Linked DNA regions of Homo sapiens: all the other regions are linked to region 4. The links are contacts of gene promoters, found by promoter capture Hi-C in blood cells and fetal thymus (Javierre and others, 2016). All regions are on one chromosome and are shown on one strand. The core of a region is centred on a gene start or on the middle of the fragment in contact, and the rest is flanking DNA. Distances in the headings are between cores, read along the strand shown. Region 1 holds the start of RASGEF1A (RasGEF domain family member 1A). Region 2 has its middle 21 kb from the start of RASGEF1A. Region 3 overlaps RASGEF1A (RasGEF domain family member 1A). Region 4 holds the start of ZNF487 (zinc finger protein 487).

The links. The method cuts DNA at HindIII sites, captures the fragments that hold promoters and counts their contacts. A CHiCAGO score of 5 or more calls a contact.
Region 1: the fragment with the promoter of RASGEF1A here is called in contact with the fragment with the promoter of ZNF487 in region 4 in 1 of 17 cell types (neutrophils); the score reaches 8.8 in neutrophils.
Region 2: a contact is called between a fragment that was not itself captured here and the fragment with the promoter of ZNF487 in region 4, in 4 of 17 cell types (naive CD8 T cells, monocytes, neutrophils and 1 more). The highest score is 6.9, in naive CD8 T cells.
Region 3: a fragment that was not itself captured here is called in contact with the fragment with the promoter of ZNF487 in region 4 in 1 of 17 cell types (neutrophils); the score reaches 5.7 in neutrophils.

What each region holds. Positions count from the first base shown.
Region 1 is chr10:43,265,707-43,268,713 of GRCh38, reverse strand. It overlaps RASGEF1A (RasGEF domain family member 1A), which reads left to right and starts at 1,649. Exons shown (of 13, transcript NM_145313.4): 1 at 1,649-1,869. RefSeq lists an enhancer at 2,144-3,007. The HindIII fragment of the contact is 10,296 bases long and covers 1-3,007 here.
Region 2 is chr10:43,286,620-43,289,919 of GRCh38, reverse strand. No RefSeq gene overlaps it. Among named protein-coding and RNA genes, the nearest start is that of RASGEF1A, 21 kb to the right of the region's middle. The HindIII fragment of the contact is 4,272 bases long and covers 1-3,300 here.
Region 3 is chr10:43,194,871-43,198,232 of GRCh38, reverse strand. RASGEF1A (RasGEF domain family member 1A) reads left to right here. Exons shown (of 13, transcript NM_145313.4): 10 at 38-229; 11 at 1,134-1,257; 12 at 1,685-1,757; 13 at 1,965-3,362. The coding sequence ends at 1,989. Among named protein-coding and RNA genes, the nearest start is that of CSGALNACT2, 58 kb to the right of the region's middle. The HindIII fragment of the contact is 7,336 bases long and covers 1-3,362 here.
Region 4 is chr10:43,435,537-43,438,603 of GRCh38, reverse strand. ZNF487 (zinc finger protein 487) reads right to left here and starts at 1,493. Exons shown (of 4, transcript NM_001355444.3): 1 at 1,342-1,493. RefSeq lists a silencer at 1,209-1,868 and an enhancer at 1,969-2,038. The HindIII fragment of the contact is 37,036 bases long and covers 1-3,067 here.

The DNA.
Region 1 (3,007 bases), core at 400-2,899, 170 kb after region 4:
CACTCACTCATCTCCACTTGGCCTCCTTCTAAGGCATCCTCCACCTCAGGGCCTTTGCATGTACTGTTCTCTTTGCTGAAAATGTTCATTCCTCGGATTCAGCATAGCTTGCCTCAGTTAGGTCTTAGCTCAGATATGATCCTTTCAGCCAAGATTTCCCTGATCACCCAAAATAAAATCCCCAACCCAGCAGGGAAGGGTGGTGGTGAGAAACTACAGTTCTAGCTACTCAGGAGGCTGAGGCAGGAGGCTCACTAGAGTCAGGAAGTTCCAGGCTGTAGAGCATAGTGATTGCACCTGTGAATAGCCACTGCACTCCAGCCTGGGCCACACAGTGACACCTCCCCTTAAAAAATAAAAAAGAATCCCCCACCCTACAAGCTCCCCTCCCCCTCCCTTCGCTGGCTCCCTCTCCCTGCTGGGCCTCTCTGTGGGATCTGCAGCATCTGACACATGAACTATTTATGTGTATTTTTATTCACTGCCTACTTCCCACAAGAATGCAAACTCCAACCAGACAGAGACATTCACAGCCGAATCCCAGTGCCCCATCTTACACCTGGCATACAGGTGTTCAAGACACAAGGACTAAGTGAGTAAGCAAGGTCCTCAGCCTCTTCAAGGGGTGCTGTGGGGCTCCTCCCCATTTTTTCACACAGACCCCTCCACCTGGGGACATCGTCGCCCCAGACCTGTTTCTCACTGGCCCTCGTCTGACTGCCTGCAAGAGTCACTCTGGGCCACCCTGGGGTCAGGCCACAGGGTGTCCGTTCAAGAGAAGGTGACCCTTCAGAGCGACAGGAAGTTCCAGTGGACGCCAGAAGACCTGTGTCCTGCTTTAGTGGTTCTGAAATCTTTCAAGGTGGCTTTGGAGCCTTGCTCTGCCACTTATAGGCTCTGAGACCCTGCAGGGTAACCGCACTCCCTGTGCATCAGTTTACTAACCTGTCCAATGGGAACAAATCCACCACCGACCTTACAGGGCGATTAAGATGGTTAAGGGGAGTGACCCAAGGGGCCAGGACTTGCCCACAGAAGGGCTTTCACCGTCTGATTCCACTGACAAAAATTTTGCCAGCTCTGCGGGAGTCCCCAGAGGGCCTTTTAAATGCGGTGGCCGCATCGCCTCCTAGCTTGTCTGCTGCCTGATCCTTTTTTTTTTTTTTTTTTTTTTTTTTTTGAGACGGAGTCTCACTCTGTTACCCAGGCTGGAGTGCAGTGGCGCGATCTCGGCTCACTGCAAGCTCCACCTCCCGAGTTTACACCATTCTCCTCCCTCAGCCTCCCGAGTAGCTGGGACTACAGGCGCCCGCCACCACGCCCGGCTAATTTTTTTTTTTGTATTTTTAGTAGAGATGGGGTTTCACCGTGTTAGCCGGGATGGTCTCGATCTCCTGACCTCGTGATCCGCCCGTCTCGGCCTCCCAAAGTGCTGGGATTACAGGCGTGATGCCTTATCCTTTTTAAATGAAAGCCTGGCCGCCCTCTCCCGGCGCCCGCCCTGTCCCAGTGCCCTCTGCTCGAGCCCCGTCCCGCGCCCTACCTCCCCCTGCACCTTTGCCCCGCACCCTCCTCCCTCCGCGTCCCGCGCCCGCCCGCTCCCCCGCTCCCCGCGCTCTCGCGCCCGCTCCGTGCCCGCTCGGCGCTCGCTCCGCGCTCGCTCGTTCGCTCGCTCGCTCGCGCTCCCCGGCGCCGGCTGCGGAGGGAGCTGCTCTGCCCGCAGCTGGCGCAGCGCGGGGGCGGCCGCGGGTGGGCGGGTGCCGCGGGCCCGGGCGCCGAGCATGAGCCGCCGCCGGCGCCGGCCGCGCGCTGCTCGGGGCCCGACTGCGGCGCGAGGGCGGCGCGGGAGCGACGCTGGCCCGGACCGAGGTAGGCAGCGGCCGCGGACCCTCAGTGCCTCGGGGCCCCCGCCCGCGCCTGGGGCCGTGCCCTCCGGTCGCCGGCGCGGGCAGGGCGCGGCGTGCGCGGGCCCGGGGTCCCTCCCGGCGCGGCCGTCGTGGGGCCGGGGCGCGGGCTCCGGGCGCGGGGCGGGGGACGCGCGCGGGGAGGGCGGCCGGGATCCCGGCGCGCGGAGTTGCTGAGAACTCCGCCCCGGGCTGGACGGCGCCAGGACCCCCTGCACCCTCCGCCCCTTCAGGGCACCTGGCGGGCCGGGCCGGGCCGGGCCGGGCGTGGCAGGAGCGCACGCGGCGGGCGGGCGTGGGCACTGCGGGCAGGTTCGCTGCCCGGGGCCTGGCGTGGGGGTGGGGGCTGGGGAATCGGAGGAGCTCAGGGCTGCGCAGTTGGAAGTTTCCATTTGCTCTTCTGCATTCTGGGCCCCGCCGTGGTATCTCACGCCCTTGCTGTTTGGCGAGGAATTGGGGCTTGAGCTCTGCATTTGGGGGAGAGGTCCAGGGCCATGCCAGGTGTCTCCCTCTCCCTGCTGGGCAAGGGTCATTTGAAGGACCACGCTCTCTTTGCCCCAGGCCTTGCCGGCCCCAGGAACGGGGCAGGTGCAGCTGGTTCTGGTCCGAGGGTCGGTGAGTGAGAGGTGGGGGCGGGAGTCCCCTGCTGTGTGTGGAGGGACGCGCTGGCAGGTTCCTGTGCCCTGCATTTCTGGCTGCCTCTGGGTGCTGGACCTGGTGGATATTTACAGAGAGGCCGCTGCCTGCCTCTTGGGAGCCACCTGGGGGCAGAGACCTGGTGGTGGCCGGGGCTCCCTCCCTCCCTGCTCAGAGCAGTGAGCTTCTCCCTGGTTCACCCTCCCCACCACTGCCACTCTTCTCCCACTGTCCTGCGCAGGAAGGGCCCCGATGGCCGTCGGCCGCAGGATCCTGAAACACAGGAGTCAGGCTGGGTGCAGGGGAGCCTCCCAGAGGCCTTGGTTCCCTCTGTCCCCCCAGGGTTCTCCCGCCCCCTCCGGATGCAGTCTTGCCAGCCCAGCCTGTCCACCTCGGTGCCCTGGACTCTAAGCGGCTCTAGGGGGCCTCCAGCCGAAAGGCTACAGGTCTTGATTCGTGAACCACGG
Region 2 (3,300 bases), core at 418-2,917, 150 kb after region 4:
TTGTATTTTAGTAGAGACAGGGCTTCACTATGTTGTCCAGGTTGGTCTCAAACTCCTGGGCTCAAGTGATCCATCCACCTCCTCACAGGTGAGGGGTAGGGGGATTCCAGGCATAAGCCACCGCACTCAGCCTTGCTTTTTTCTCTATCAATCACTTTATTCAACTTTATTGGGTTATTTTAATGTTAGTGTTCCTGTTTTTGAACTAAGATAGTAGTTCATTTATTTTTAATCTTCCTTTTCTCTAATAAACGTATTAAGGCTTCTACATTTTCTGTGGATATTGCTTTGAAACATTTCACAAGTTTAAAAAGTGGAATATTCTGTTCTGTCACCCATTTCTAAGTGGTTGGTAATTTCTATTTGGGTTTTGTTTGTTTGTTTGTTTTAGACAAGGTCTCTCTGTGTTGTCTAGGCTGGAGTGCAGTGGCTATTGTCACACGTGTGATCATTGCATACGACTCCTCCAACTCCTGGGCTCAAGTGATCTTCCTGCCTCAGCCTGCTGTGTAGTTGGGACTATGGTCATGTACTACCAAGCCTGGCTTGTTTTGGTGTTCTTTTAAAAGTTATTTTATTTTATTTTATTTATTTTTTTGAGACAGGGTCTTGCTCTGTCACTCAGGCTGGAGTGCAGTGGCACTGGATTACAGCTCACTGCAGCTTCGACCTCCCTGGCTGAGGCGATCCTCCTTCTTCAGCCTACCAAGTGGCTGGGACCACAGGTGCACACCACCACACTTGGCTACTTTTTAAATTAGTTTTAGTGACAGGGTCTCCCTATGTTGACCAGGCTGGTCTTGAACTCCTGGACTCAAGTGATCCTCCTGCCTCGGCCTCCCAAAGTGCTGGGATTGTAGCTGTGAGCCACTACACCTGGTGATTATTGTAGCTTTGTAGTAAGTTTTCAAATCAGGAATTGTGAGTCATCCAACTTTGTTCTTCTTTTTGAAGATTTTTTTAACTATCCTGGGTTCCTTGAATTTTCATATGAATTTTCAGAACAGCTTGTAACTTTCTGCAGAGAATTCACCTGGGATTCTGATATGGATTCTGTGAACCCAGAGATCTTTAAGAAGTATTGCCGTCTTAACCATATTAAGTCTCCCAATCCATGAATGTGGATGTCTTTCCATTTATTTAAGTGTTCTTTAATTTCTCCCAACTGTGTTTATAGTTTTCAGTGTACAAGTTTTGCACTTCTTTTGTTAAATTTATTCATAAATTTTCAGTCTTTTAATTTTTTTGAGACAGGGTCTTTCTGTGTTGCCCAGGCTGGAGTGCAGTGGTGCCAACACGGATCACTGCAGCCTTAACCTCCTGGGCTTAAGTGAGCCTCCTGCTTCAGCCTCCTGAGAAGCTAATTATGTATATATTTTTTGTAGAGATAGAGTCTTGCTATATTGCCCAGGCTGGTCTCAAACTCCTGGCCTCAAGCCATCCTCCTGCCTTGGCCTCCCAAAGTGCTGGGAGTCACAGTGCCCGGTCAATATTTTATTCTTTCTGATGCCCTTGTGAACAGAATTTGTTATGGGTTGAACTATATCTCCCCAAAATTCATATGCTGAAGTCTCACTTCCTAGTACTTTAGAATGTGACCCTATTCGGAAATAGGGTAACTACAGATGCAAATAATTGACTTAGAATGAGGTCACCCTGGAACAAGGTGGGCCCTAATCCAATGTAACTGGTGTCCTTATTAAAAGGGAAATTTGGACACAGACACAGGCTCAGGCACACAGGGAGAACTGCATGTGGAGCCTGGGGTTTTGCTGCCGCAAGCCAAGGAGCTATCAGAAATAAGGATAGAGGCTTGGGACAGAGCTTTCCCCTACGGCCTTCTGTGAGGGAACCAACCCTGCATCACCTTGGTTTTGGACCTCTGGCCTCCAGAGCTATGAGACAATATATTTGTAAGCTACCCATAAGCTACCCAATTGGTGGCATTTTGTTATGGTGTCCCTCCAAATTATATTGTTTTCTTAATTTGATTTTCAGTTTGTTCATTGCTAGTGTATAGAATATGACCGATTTTTGCATATTCACCTTGCACCTTACAGCCTTGCTGAACTTGCTATTAGCTGTGAGTGTGTGTGTGTGTGTGTGTTCCTTAGTACTTTTTATATTCAAGATTTCATCATCTGCAAACAGAGAGTTTTACCTCTTCCTTTCCAATCTGGATGCTGTCAAGATTTGCAGTGGAATATGTTCTGGCTTCCTATTTACGCACATCTCTCTGTGGATATTAATTATACTTATTCTAAAGTCTTATTCTGTTTGTTGTATTAGCTCTGGGTCCCTGAATGTGTTTTCCATGAGATGTGTTGGTTTCCTCTTTTGTGCTACTTGTCTGCCTTGGGTGTTTAAATTACAGTGACTCACGACTGGGCTCCTCCTCGCCCTTCCACTTCCTGTTTACCGGTGTGACTGTTCTGTTTCTTCTGCCCAAGGCACATGGGGGCAGGGCAAGCCTTGTGGTCAGTTGTGGGCTCACCTGGAGGAGTTTCCTGGAGTGGGGCCACTCTGCTGCCTGGGGTTGCTCCAGACTCCGCCTGGCCTCTGAAGCCCAAATGCCTACACTTCCACCCTGTCCTGGAGCAAGTGAAGGAGGAGGACAGGTGTTGACTCCCAGGTCCTCTCCAGGGTCTCAAAGCCCTCGGAGCCCAGGCCCCTCTGCTGCTTCCTCCCAGAGCCTGCAGCACAGCCCAGGAGTCTCTTTTCGTTGTTACTGTTTTTGTTTGGAGACAGGGTCTCGCTCTGTCACCCAGGCTGAAGTGCAGTGGTGTGAACACAGCTCACTACAGCCTCGACTCCCCGAGCTCAAGTGATCCTCCTGTCTCAGTTTCCTGTGTAGCTGGGACTACAGGTATGCACCATCACACCAGGCTACTTTTTAATTTTTTGTAGAGACAGAGTCTCCCTATGTTGCCCAGGCTGGTTTCGAACCTCTGGGCTCAAGGGATCCTCCTGGCTCAGCCTCCCATTTGTGGCAATACGGGACTAGAAAACTGATCTCACTGGTCTCCCCCTGTCCTCTGTAAAATGGGTAGAACATTCCTCTCTGAAAGGCCAACATGGGAATGAACACAGGGCATGCTTGGGAGGCACCTGTGCACTGAGGTGCATTCAGGTGTCACAGGGTCTCATCAACTCCCTGTGGCCTGGTTGGTCAGTGCCTGTGCCACAGGCCTGTAGGGTCTGTGGGGACTCACCGGAGCAAAGAAGGCCAAGCACCTCCCCGCTCTGGGTTCCAGAGATTCCAACAAGCTCTGCTGTCTTGCAGGGGGTGCCCGAGTGCGC
Region 3 (3,362 bases), core at 363-2,862, 240 kb after region 4:
GGCTGTGATGCTCACCAGGTCCTCCCTGTGCCCACAGCATCACATGGACCCGTCCAGCAACTTCTGCAACTACCGTACAGCCCTGCAGGGGGCCACGCAGAGGTCCCAGATGGCCAACAGCAGCCGTGAAAAGATCGTCATCCCTGTGTTCAACCTCTTCGTTAAGGACATCTACTTCCTGCACAAAATCCATACCAACCACCTGCCCAACGGGCACATTAACTTTAAGGTGAGCTCATCCCAGCACAGGGCAGGCCAGGCGGAAACTGTCTGAGCTACTGGAGCCGCCAGGCATTAGCCCTGGGTCGGGATCTGTGGGTTTCCTGAGCCCTGCCTGAGGTTCACAAGGGCCTTCAAGACTGAAAGCCTCATAGTGGGTCACGGGGTGCTGTTTGACTGCAAGGTATGAGGTGCGCCTGCCGGTACTTCTGGGTGGATGGCCTAGTTGCAGAGCTTGGAGTCACAGGGAATTGTATTTATCCAGGACCGTGGTTCCAGCCTGGCCCTACCAGGGAGAGAGCCCTGTCCACCCCTGTGGGATTGGAGGTCAGGAGGGGTTTAGATAGGAAGGGACTTGAGCAGGGAGGAGGCGGCAGAGAATTCTAGATGGAAGTGAAGAGCCTGCCTCGTGGGCCTGAGGGCACCTGGTGAGGATGGGAGGGTGGGACATAGGTGGCAGGGCAGGTGTAGGTGGCTGTGGGCTGCCGGATGCCTACCTCACACAGGTGAGGTGTGGGCAGGAGCTGGGATCCTTCCGAAGGTCCCAGAGAAGGGACATCATGACACGTTCTGGTTGGCGCCGCTGGGCTGGGTTTGGATGGGGTGCCTGCCTCAGGCTGGAGTTATCAGTGGGGCCTTCTTTGGGTCCCTGCACAGACAGGCAGAGACCCTGCTGCCGGCCTGATGGCCCAGGTGGAGGGCCAGACAGAGTGGCCTTGGGGGACACCTGCTGGCTCTGAGGCTGCATGGCGTGCCACCATGGCCACGGGGTCAGCGTGCAGGGCCACTGTCCCATCTTGCTGGGACCAGTGAAGTGAGCAGGAGGCTGAGGCCAAAACCTACGTCCCCTGCCCTGACCGAGGGTTTGGTGCTTAAGGTGACAGATGAACATCAGTTGGTTTTGCTCCCTTCAGAAATTCTGGGAGATCTCCAGACAGATCCATGAGTTCATGACATGGACACAGGTAGAGTGTCCTTTCGAGAAGGACAAGAAGATTCAGAGTTACCTGCTCACGGCGCCCATCTACAGCGAGGAAGGTGAGGGCTGCCTCCCAACGCAGCATGCCTCCCACCCCACCTGACTCCTTGTCCAGGCCCGGTGCTCTTTGGGGTTGCCCTGGGAGATGGCCTGCTGGCTGCTCCATGCCACACAGGGCTGGCTCTGCTCGCAGGGGCGAGTGTGCATGAGGGTGGGTCATGGGATGGATGGAAGAGAAGGACAAGAGACTCAGTTTCCAGCAGCCACTGGAGAGGGTCACATGGGCTTAGGTCAGGTGCTGCAACACGAGGAACCTTCCTAGAGTCCCCAACAGGCAGCCTGAGAGCCCCGCACAGCAGAGAACTGTGTTCAGCCCAGCCAGAGGTCACTGTCCCCTTGTGCTGGGCTGTACTCCTGAAGGGACAGCTGGGTTCAGGCAGACACTGCATGGGGACACAGGCTCTGAGGGACTTTCCCATCTCTCAGCTCTCTTCGTCGCCTCCTTTGAAAGTGAGGGTCCCGAGAACCACATGGAAAAAGACAGCTGGAAGACCCTCAGGTAGGAGGGCGTCAGGAACATGGGAGTCTGTAAGGAAGAGGGAGGACTCAGGGTGGGCACGAGGGTTACCCTCCTGGAAAGGGAGCCTGGGCACTGCCGCGTCCCTGGTCCAGGGTCCCTGGTGCATGTTTGGTGGGAGGCTGAGGATGGCTTGGACCCAAGCCGCCCTGCTCGGGCCTGAGCACTGCTTGTCCTGTCCCCCTCTAGGACCACCCTTCTGAACAGAGCCTGAGGCGGATGCAGCCCGCGACGCCAGAGGAAGCACGTGCACTAACTGGGTTTAAATTTTGACTGATGTGGGTTGAGATGAGGAGGCCTCACTGGTTGGGGTCCATTTTGTATATAACTTTTATGAGAAAAAAATGGTAATTATTTCACGCATCAACCTTTGGCACTTACAAAGTTTTTTTTGTTTATTTTAAATAACAGGGCAGGGCCCTGCTTTGGGGAGGGGGAGGGGAGAGTATCATGGGAGATGGTATCCATGATAACATCTTATTCTAATGAAATGTAGATTTTTATTTTCTACTTTTGATTATTAACATCTTATGAAAAAAATATTTTAAAAAACCCAGCCAAAACCAACGTGAGCCCTGCCTGCTCGGACGCCTTTCCAGCCAGTGTCTCTGACGTCGGGGTTAGTGCCTTAGAGGGTACTGGGGTCTGGTCTTCCTGCTCTGTGGTTTGGGCTGCGGTGAGTCCCACTCCACCTGGGCGCCTGCCCTCAGGAGCCTGGGCTGCGAGGCTCCATAGGAGGGCTGGTGGCTGGGAGGTCGCGTCCGCACACTTCTGGAAGTGAGCCTTTGAGTACGGGCTGTCCAAAGTTTACATTTTCATTTTCCTTTCAGGGATTTGTGGGGTCAGGGAGGGGCAGGGGGCACCTGGCAGCATATTTTCTGTGACAATGTGTCCAGCAAATCATTCTTCAACTACATTTTAGAAAGGAGGAAATCTAAAATAAGGTAAGGGAGGGAAGCATGGAGTTGTCAGTTTTCTGGGCTGTGACTGAAAGACACACTGAGCTGTGATGAAGAAAAATACATGGCCGACTCCAGGGTGGTGACATTTAGAGCTAGTCTTGAAACCTATCATCTACAGAGGGGAGGGCAGCCAACAGCCCTCTTCCCACCTGGGTAGGCAGCGCCCTAATTGGAATTGGAAACAGAAAATTCGCCAGGCCATACTGCTGGAGCCCATTCAGATAAAACTGCCCAATACTGAGAGGTGTTTTCTACACCCAGCTAGAGGAGCACACTCCATTTTCCCATGTCTGACTTCGTGGTGTGAGCCCTGGGCCCTACTGACCATGGCGCAGGACAGCTGTCCTTCAGAAAGCACACGGTCAATCCACGTGGACCGTCTCCCTCGCAGGAACTCCGCATCCTTGTCCCTCTGCATTCCCAGTTTCCGCAGGAGCCTTGATCAATGGGGAAGCCTGGGTGAGGATGGGCCAGGTCCCAATTCCCAAAGCTCCTGGAAGAGCCTGAAGACATTGGGAAAGGCTGGGCCTGGGGAGGAGGCAGCCCTGGGCCCGCTGCCCATGCCTCTGGTCCTGGGTGGAGCAGGAATAGTTCCACTGTATTGTCACAGTGTGTTTGCACTTTC
Region 4 (3,067 bases), core at 244-2,743:
CATATGGCAATTCTATTTGTTAATTTTTTGAGGGAACTGCCATACTGTTTTCCATAGCTGCTGTACCATTTTACATTCTTACCAACAATACACAAGGGTATATTTCTTAATATATGGGGGCTGGGTGCAGTGGCTCACGCCTGTAATCCCAGCACTTTGGGGGGCTGAGGCAGGTGGATCACCTGAGGTCAATAATTCGAGACCAGCCTGGCCAACAAGGCAAAACCCTGTCTCTACTAAAAATACAAAAATTAGCCGGGTGTGGTGGCACGTGCCTGTAACCCTCGTCACTTGGGAGGCTGAGGCAGGAGAATTGCTTGAAGCCAGGAGGTGGAGGTTTCAGTGAGCCAAAATCACGCCACTGCACTCCAGCCTGGGCGACAGAGGGAGACTCCACCTCAAAATATATATATATATGGAACCTAAGACAAAAGCCTGCACTCACCCCTAATCTGCTAAATTCAAGTTCTCTCCATGATGAGGTTTCAAAAGGAATTAGTGCAAAATGTATTTAAGGATATGACCAGAAAGGAGAAAGAAAAAACAAATGGCTATTACACACACAGCAGAAAAGTAACACTAGGAGGCAAAGGAACTCAATGAAGAAATATTTCGGTGGCAGGCGGTGGTTCAGCCTGTAATCCCCGCACTTTGGAAAGCTAAAGCAGGAGAATCACTTGAGCCCAGGAGTTCAAGACCAGCCTGAGCAACATAGTGATACCCCTGTTTCTATTTATAAATAAATAAATAAATAAATATTTCCAACCAAAGAATACAAACTTAGTAAAGCTAATGAAGGAAGAACACAGTGAAGAGCTGCCGATGTAAGAGAAAAAAAGAAAATTTCCGGAGGAAAAAAGTTCAAAGATTTGCAACTATTTCCTCAGAAGGAACTGGGAAAAGGGAGTTTTGAGTAATAAGGCCTTGTGCAAGTTTCTGACTCTTAAGGATGTGAATGTACTGCCTTAAAAAATAAACTAAAAAGAGCCTCTTTTCTCACCACAACTCAACAATCATGAAGGTATCCTTGCAAGTGTGTGTAGACCTCTCATGCCTCCTAGGTCCAGGGTCACTCGTCCAGGACTCTCCCAATATCCCTGCCCAGAGGAAGCGCTTCCTCAGACTCGGTTCCTTCTGGTTGCCCTTGTCTCGCTTCTCTAGGGTGGGCTGGCCGCTCCCGCACTGGGGTCAAAGATCCTCCGGGTTCTCTCTGCCACGACTCGCCCTGATCCCAAATCCCAGCCCCACGGTCCCCACCCCCAGCGGGCCCAGTCCCCGCTCGATCCTGGGTGTGCGGCCCTCGACCTCAGACCCGGCCCCTGCCCGCCGGCCGCCCCTCACCTCGGCCTCGGAGGCTCCACGCTCCCCCTCTCACAGCCCGCACCTCGGCGGTCTCTCGGAGGAGGGAGGAACCCGAGGTACCTGGTAGTCGTAGCTGAGGAACTTACAGGCTTGTTGACCATCTCACCATGGAAACTGCCGCAGCGCTCCCTGGGCGGGGCCGCCGAGGGGCGGGGCCTGCGCGAATCCCGGGCGCCCGCCAGTCCAGCGCTCCCTGCGCTTCCGGAAGCCTTGCTGCTCCCGCGTGCCTAGCGGGGGCTCGGCCCTATGCCACGGGCATCCCACCCTGCTACCAGCTGCCCTCTTGTCCGCTGGCCGGACTCTTACCCCAGCCTTCTTCAGGAAGACACGGCGCAGTCCGGCTTCCCCACGAAAGCGAAGGTCGCTGGGACCGCGGCTGGGCGTCCGGGGGCGGGGCCGCGACGCCATTGTGACGCGCTCGGAGCAGGGCTGGGCCGAGGACCCCGGGCGCTGGAGGGCAGGCCCTAGCCACTGCTCCTGAGGCCCTGGAGGCAGCTGACGCTTGAGGCCGCTGGGCGCCGCAACGTGAGCCCAAAGGACGCCCCGCTTCAAGACTGGCGCAAGAGGAAAAAATGAAGGTCGTTTTCTGCGGAGGATGTTAGGAGAACGAGAACTGCGGGCCAGAGAACTGACCTAGCTTAAGGAGCGCAGGCAGCCTCTGCCGCCGGCTCTTGGGGAGACACGGAGAGGATGGGGTCCCCGCTCCGCATCAGGTCCTCTGACGCACCCCGGCTTTCCAGGAGGTAGGACTGGCCACAGGCCTCCTTCCCAGGGACAAAGTGCAAAGCAGAGGCTGTCAGCAGCGTGACCTTCGCTGCAGGAGAAATACGCGTCCAGTTCGTTTTCGTCAGAGTTCTGCTACATCAGGCCTGCCGTATTTGCTGTACACAAATCAGCCAACTTCCCAGGCCTGGGTGCGGAGGTATTTGTTAAGCACATGCACACAGTTGGAATTAGCAGCCTCAGGGATCAAAAGTTGTCCTTTTTTTTTTTTTTTTTTTTGGAGACGAAGTTTCGCTCTTGTTGCCCAGGCTGGAGTGCAGTGGCGCGATCTTGGCTCACTGCAACCTCCGCCTCCCGAGTTCAAGTGATTCTCCTACCTCAGGCTCCCGAGTAGCTGGGATTACAGTCGTCCGCCACCACGCCCGGTTAATTTTTTTTGTTTTTAGTAGAGATGGGGTTTCACCATTTTGGCCAGGCTGGTGTCGAACTCTTTTTTTTTTTTTTTTTTTTTTTTTTTGAGACGGAGTCTCGCTCTGTCACCCAGGGTGGAGTGCAGTGGCGCGATCTCAGCTCACTGCAAGCTCCGCCTCCCAGGGTCACGCCATTGTCTTGCCTCAGCCTCCCGAGTAGCTGGGACTACAGGCGCCCGCCACCACGCCCGGCTAATTTTTTGTATTTTTAGTAGAGACGGGGTTTCACCGTGTTAGCCAGGTTGGTCTTGATCTCCTGACCTCGTGATCCGCCCGTCTCGGCCTCCCAAAGTGCTGGGATTACAGGCATGAGCCACCGTGCCCGGCCTGGTGTCGAACTCTTGACCTCAGGTGATCCACTGGCCTCGGCCTCCCAAAGTGGTAGGATTACAGGCGTGAGCCACCGCGCCCCTGCCCAAGAGTTGTCATTTCTGTAGCAAAGCAGCTAAGCAATATTCTTTTGCCTGCCACCTAAATGTGATTAGGTGCAGCATCATTAAGAAAAAAAATAA